2 separate regions of the Homo sapiens genome follow, and region 2 is linked to region 1. The links are contacts of gene promoters, found by promoter capture Hi-C in blood cells and fetal thymus (Javierre and others, 2016). All regions are on one chromosome and are shown on one strand. The core of a region is centred on a gene start or on the middle of the fragment in contact, and the rest is flanking DNA. Distances in the headings are between cores, read along the strand shown. Region 1 holds the start of FRZB (frizzled related protein). Region 2 holds the start of PDE1A (phosphodiesterase 1A).

What was found. The method cuts DNA at HindIII sites, captures the fragments that hold promoters and counts their contacts. A CHiCAGO score of 5 or more calls a contact.
Region 2: a contact is called between a fragment that was not itself captured here and the fragment with the promoter of FRZB in region 1, in 1 of 17 cell types (neutrophils). The highest score is 5.6, in neutrophils.

Annotation. Positions count from the first base shown.
Region 1 is chr2:182,865,190-182,868,286 of GRCh38, reverse strand. FRZB (frizzled related protein) reads left to right here and starts at 1,650. Exons shown (of 6, transcript NM_001463.4): 1 at 1,650-2,212. The coding sequence starts at 1,735. RefSeq lists an enhancer at 1,519-2,487. The HindIII fragment of the contact is 6,424 bases long and covers 1-3,097 here.
Region 2 is chr2:182,426,326-182,429,569 of GRCh38, reverse strand. PDE1A (phosphodiesterase 1A) reads left to right here and starts at 2,534. Exons shown (of 15, transcript NM_001363871.4): 1 at 2,534-2,992. The coding sequence starts at 2,940. The HindIII fragment of the contact is 3,073 bases long and covers 1-2,875 here.

The DNA.
Region 1 (3,097 bases), core at 401-2,900:
CCTCTCAATGAAGGCTGTGTTTTCTGACATTCGGCAATCCTTTTGCTCAGTGATTTCCCATTGAGAGGGCATAGTGTGAAGGCCTCTGCAGGTCATTCCATTTACAATATAAGCTGAAAGGGTAGAGTGGGGCGGGGGTGGGGGGAAGAGGGAGCTCATTAGTGGAAGAAGCAGACCAGGAGGGGATCTGTTTTCCATTTTCTCCTCCAGATTGAACTCATCTGGATGGAAAGGTTTTGATTGTTGTTATAATCATCATTATTACCTGCGTGATGTCGTTTTCCTACACTTTTTTTTTAAGTGTCGGGCAGAATTGTTGCTGAGAATAACAAATAATATCTGCCATGTTATCCGTGAGCAAAATCAGAAAAAAAAAGTCCAAGTGTATTAGAGCTGTTAGTTTCCACGTTAACCCTTAAGGAGCAAAGCTCAAGAGTTCTAATTCCACTAGGTGGGGGGGGCGGGAATAGAAGGAAAAAACCCCTTTTCCTTGCTTCTGGTGGCCTATTTGTAGTCATGAACAGCATTTCTTTGTTTCTCTCTCTCTTTTTTTTTTTTTTTAAAGGCAATCCTCCCCCCACCTCCTCCCCCGCAGTTATTGAAAATGGAGACCTCTGTAGTCACTAGCTCTGGGTTGATATGGCTCCACCGTTGCTCGCAGGGGTCTGTGTTTTCCGCTACTTGGACAAAGTGACATTGCTTAAGCCTTTCCCCCCACCAGGTCTGACTTTCTGCAGAGCCAGTGATTGCAGAGGAAAAGCTGTAGTTTGCTTAAAGGAAATACCTCCAGGAAGGAGGGTCTCGGGTGGGTTCCCAAGTGGGGAACTAGGGGGACTTTTCCGTAGGGAATTGGGGTGGGCTCTTCAGTGAGGGGCTAGGGGCTCGTTTCTGGGGCCAAAGACGGGTTCCCTAGTGTGAGGGCGCGCTCGACTCGGCGCTGTCTTGGGGTCTCGCACTCGCACGGCTTCGCACCCCACCGCCTGCGACTCCCAGGCCTTCTCTTCCCCGGGCGCCCACTCCATTCTCGGGAAGAGCAGCCGGCACTGGAGGGCAGAGACTGCCCCAGGGGCGGAGCTCCCTCTCAGGCGGGAGGTAGGAAAGTGCAGAGCCGCCCGGGCAGAGGCACAGACGTCCCTGCGGGGCTCCTCCTGAGCGTCCCTCCTGCCAGCCAGGGTCGCAGCCGCAGCGGCGGCCGCAGCTCTTAGCCCACACAGGACTTGTAAACTCTTACTGCACCCTTCTCTCCCATTAGGAGCTTTTCCTCCCTCCTTCCCCCCAACCCCTCTGTCCTCCTCACTTTGGGGAATTTAATGCTTTCTTTAGCATCTTTTTGTGTGCGTGATCTAGGGGAGGAGACACCCCAGAGCTCCAACTAGCTCTCAGCTGAATTCTACTTTTGTTTTTATGTCTTCCTCGCCTCCTCTCGTGTCCCTCTTATCTGACTGATCTGCGAAGTCTGATGCTTCTGCCAGAGGGAGAGGAATAAATAGATGTTGCTGCTTCCGAAGGCTTAGACGTTGGGAAAGAGCAGCCTGGGCGGCAGGGGCGGTGGCTGGAGCTCGGTAAAGCTCGTGGGACCCCATTGGGGGAATTTGATCCAAGGAAGCGGTGATTGCCGGGGGAGGAGAAGCTCCCAGATCCTTGTGTCCACTTGCAGCGGGGGAGGCGGAGACGGCGGAGCGGGCCTTTTGGCGTCCACTGCGCGGCTGCACCCTGCCCCATCCTGCCGGGATCATGGTCTGCGGCAGCCCGGGAGGGATGCTGCTGCTGCGGGCCGGGCTGCTTGCCCTGGCTGCTCTCTGCCTGCTCCGGGTGCCCGGGGCTCGGGCTGCAGCCTGTGAGCCCGTCCGCATCCCCCTGTGCAAGTCCCTGCCCTGGAACATGACTAAGATGCCCAACCACCTGCACCACAGCACTCAGGCCAACGCCATCCTGGCCATCGAGCAGTTCGAAGGTCTGCTGGGCACCCACTGCAGCCCCGATCTGCTCTTCTTCCTCTGTGCCATGTACGCGCCCATCTGCACCATTGACTTCCAGCACGAGCCCATCAAGCCCTGTAAGTCTGTGTGCGAGCGGGCCCGGCAGGGCTGTGAGCCCATACTCATCAAGTACCGCCACTCGTGGCCGGAGAACCTGGCCTGCGAGGAGCTGCCAGTGTACGACAGGGGCGTGTGCATCTCTCCCGAGGCCATCGTTACTGCGGACGGAGCTGGTGAGTTTTGACACGGCCCACCCTTCCCTTACCCTACAGCCTCCTCAATTCTTGGAGTCCTTGTTACTAGCCTTTACTCTCTAATTTTTTTCTCTTCGGATCACTTAATCTCTCCCATAACTGCTCCTCTATCAAAGACCCTTCTTCTTCTTTCTTCTTTTTTCAAAAACAAAAACAAAAAAACCCTCACCTTATCACCTTCCAAACTGATGCACTCTGGCACTGTGTTCCAATAGGCGATCTTTCTAAAACAATCCATGCATTCCAAACCCATCACACTTCTACTCCACAGGAATCCTTCACTTCAACTCCTTACATGTGCAAGTAGCCACATTTTGTAAAGTGATGCTCTTTTTCTTTTAAAATGTGTTTATAATCATTGGGTTTTCTTTGCTGATTCTCAGGCAATCTCAGTCATCAGGTTTCTGTATCTTTAGTGTCTTAGATGCTTGTTAAGATTGTGTGGAGGAAACAGAAAACTGAAGCCCCATTTTCTTCTAATTAAAAATGCCAAGATAATTTCAATAACCTTACTCTAACCGACAGATGTTAGGGGTATGTGTTTGCTCAAGATCCAGTTTGAGCAATTACCTTCACCTTAAATTTCCCCCTCCTTTCAATGAGATAAATTGTTCTTCCATTCCAGAATGAAACAATTGTGAAACATTGCTATGCACTGTTAATTAGCTTCTGTGGCTTGCCATAGAGCTGGCAGACTGAAATTACTGAGCTCTTTTCACATGCCCACATGCCTTCAAGTCATTTTATAAGTGGCATACAGATGAAAGGAGTTATATTTAAGGCGTGTTATCATACACTCACGTAATGTTATTTTAAATCTCACCCCTTATTCCACTCTCATGTTTTGAAAAAAAAATTGTCTTT
Region 2 (3,244 bases), core at 90-2,589, 440 kb after region 1:
AGCACTGAGTCGGGTAGGGTATGTGTGTGAACGTGTTAGACTAAGTCAGCCTGACTTTGTTTTTCCACAACAGGAAAAATAAAAACACCCTTTCTGACCCCCCTCAGGAAAAAAACTATTCATAATAAATTATAGTCTATTGTATAGAAGACTTGGCCTTTTTATTTATGCCATATATTTTAGTATTTTGCACACTACAGTTGTGTTAATGTAAGGAATATATTTTAGTAATTTAATTAATAATCATGAAATCTTTGTCTTATTGAATACTACATTAAAGTTGAATAAGGTGATAAAGCCAACTTTTTTCCAATGTTAAATTTAAATGTTCTTTGAGAAAAAGCTAATAAAAACATTTAAGAAATATATATTTTTCTTTGTGCCCAGTGAATATTTAATTTACTGGTATCATCTGAATGCTTTATAGGGTCTCAGATTGGTTTTAAATATAGTGCTTTCCATAAAGTGAATCTAAACTTTCTAACTTAATCACAGAAAGAAAAAAGAATATAAACCTAAGGTAATGAAGTATGTTATGGATTTCCTATGATTAACAACTTTCAGATTCTTCAGCTGGTAATCAAGCCTTTGGACTTCAAGCTATATTTCATACTTGCTTGCCGTTTGAACTGTACCTTGGCTAGATGTTTATTAGTATTTATGTTGAGTTCCCTCCATTGTGTTCATGTAGAAATTGTCTCACATTTCCAATTCAAAAGAAGACAAAATGAAAGTTAATTTTTAAAAGTTGATGGGCTTATTATTTTCTTGAATTTTCCCTCAGGAGGAAGATTTATGCTATATTAATGGTAATATAGGTAAACCATGACTACAGAAATTGAATGCTACCCACAAACGCAAAATCCCTCCCAGAAGACCTGTACAATGTGTTATTTCTTATGTGCTTTCCTAAATACAAAGAAAGCCAAAGCATATGGTAATAATAAAGCATCTGCTTCAAAGATCTGTATCTAAGTTTGTTTATACATGGTCAGTATATTTAACTGCTGTATAGCACACATGTGAATTTATCATTGGTACTTATTGATCATAAAGAGAACAGTGACATAGATGTCACTACATAACTATGTAATATCTATATAAATATGTTATACATAATATAAAATCATCTTTTTATTTATAGCTTCCTTATTTATTTATAACAGTACATAATAAGTGTGTAGTTTTTGAAGTATCAGGCATCATAACTTCTATGGCAGTTTCTTTGCAAGAAGCAGGCGAATCAGATTTAGAAATAACATGATAGTACCATTAAAGCTGGAAAGAAATATAGAATTCAATTAATATTATAATTTCATTTTACAAACAAGAAAATGGTCTCAGACAGGTCAAGAAATTTGCCCACAGTGGCCCGGCATATTTGCAATAGAACTAGGACTAGAACCCATTTATTTTATTTTTAGTTCAATGCTCTCATAATGATTACATTTCCTAGTTTGGATTAGAACGGCTCGATAAAATCCATGATTCCCTTATAACTCTCTTCTCCTTCCTTATCTCTCCTCAGGGAGGAAAATAAAAAGGTGATCTTTCTCCCTGGAAGTATTTGGAGAGTGCCAATAACTACAGATAGTATCCTCCTTTGTGACATTTGATCTTTATTTTTATGGATCATTCAACTAAAGGCATGCACGTTACTCATTTTTCCCTTTTTATTACATGTATATATTAAAAACATTCTAATCATGCTTTGAAATGATTTAGTTTATTACAAATCTCTGACCTGGAATCTTATGACATTATTGACTGAATAGGAACTTTGTTAGTGATTCAGATACAGGAAGGTCTCCAAAATAAGTTACATTAAAATACGAGCATTCCCTTTATCTGGAGCTAGAATAAGAGTTCCCGCAGTGTAAATCTGTCTTCTAAAAGAAAACAATTTTTAATATCATTTATTTTCAGCTGTTCACAAATTCTTTTATACCTTCTTTTCTTTCCTTTTACTTTTATAAATCCAAATTTCATCACATAATATATAAACCATAGGCTCCCAGGCACTTTGGAGGGGCTTTTTGTTAAAAAAAAGCATGTGGATGTGTGTGTGTGTTTCCATCTCTTTTTTGCAAGAGATGTTTCCTCTTAGTTGGAAACCACATTTGGGTACAGACATCTGGGTATAATGTCACCAGTAGAAATTAGCAATTTTTGTTTTTCTAACTTTTGTAGCTCTGGTCAGCTTCGCATGGGCTTCTATCAGTTGATATGGCATCTTCAACTTCAGCCAAGAGGAGGTTATTAGATTATAAGTGCTAAAAATGATGAGTCGTCTCCACACTTCAGCCAGCATGAATACAAGCAAGATTGTAAAATAATTATAATCTGAAGCAGAGCCAGCCATGCAACCCGAGCCTATCTTTCTTCATTAATTTGTATACAGTTCTTATTTTAAGAGAACAAACTTTCAGAGGGTACTCACATGGGGCTGCTGAACCAGCTGTACAACTTTTATTTTGAAGAAAAAAAGTTGAGCCTCAGAACAGTCTGTTTTAAAGACAGGGAGGGACTTAGCCTTTCGGAGCTTGACCAGCATGTGGAAGGAGAGCTCTCATGGCTGCAATAACTTAGGGAGTTCCTACCTGGATGACACTGGGGTAGGAAGTTTTCTGTTTGTTTTGTTCTGTTTCGGAGGGTCCCGTGCACTTCTCTTGCCTGGATCAACGTGACTCTTGGTGGTTTTTGCACACCCTGCTCTGTGGGGGAGTGCCCCAACGTGCCTGTCTTATGTGGCCTCTATGGACACACTGCTCAGCTGGCAGAGAACAGGGAAGTTTTCTCCCAGCACCCAAAAAGAGAAAGAGGAAACTACTTTTTCTTTCTGGGCTCCTTGCAGCACAATAGATCAGGATAAGCTTCCACATTTCCTCTCTGGAGTTTCTGGAGTGGTTTCCAGGAAGAAGTTAAACCTTCACCTTTAAATGGATGACCATGTCACAATCAGGAAGAAACATCTCCAAAGACCCATCTTTAGGTAAGTAATGCTACATCGCAGGTGGCTCTAGGGCTGTCAGGAACAATAGTTTCTCCCTTCATCCTTAATTTGGGGATTCTGCCACTAAGCTACAGCAGAGCAATCAAGAGTGCTTAAAGTTTAACTTCAGGCATACTGAGGGAGCCTTTTTGTTTTCTGTTTTCTGAAACTTTGTGCACAAACTCTTATCAACTCCTGAAAATACATTTTACAAAATCTTAACTATTCAAACACATAAGTGACATAGTACTG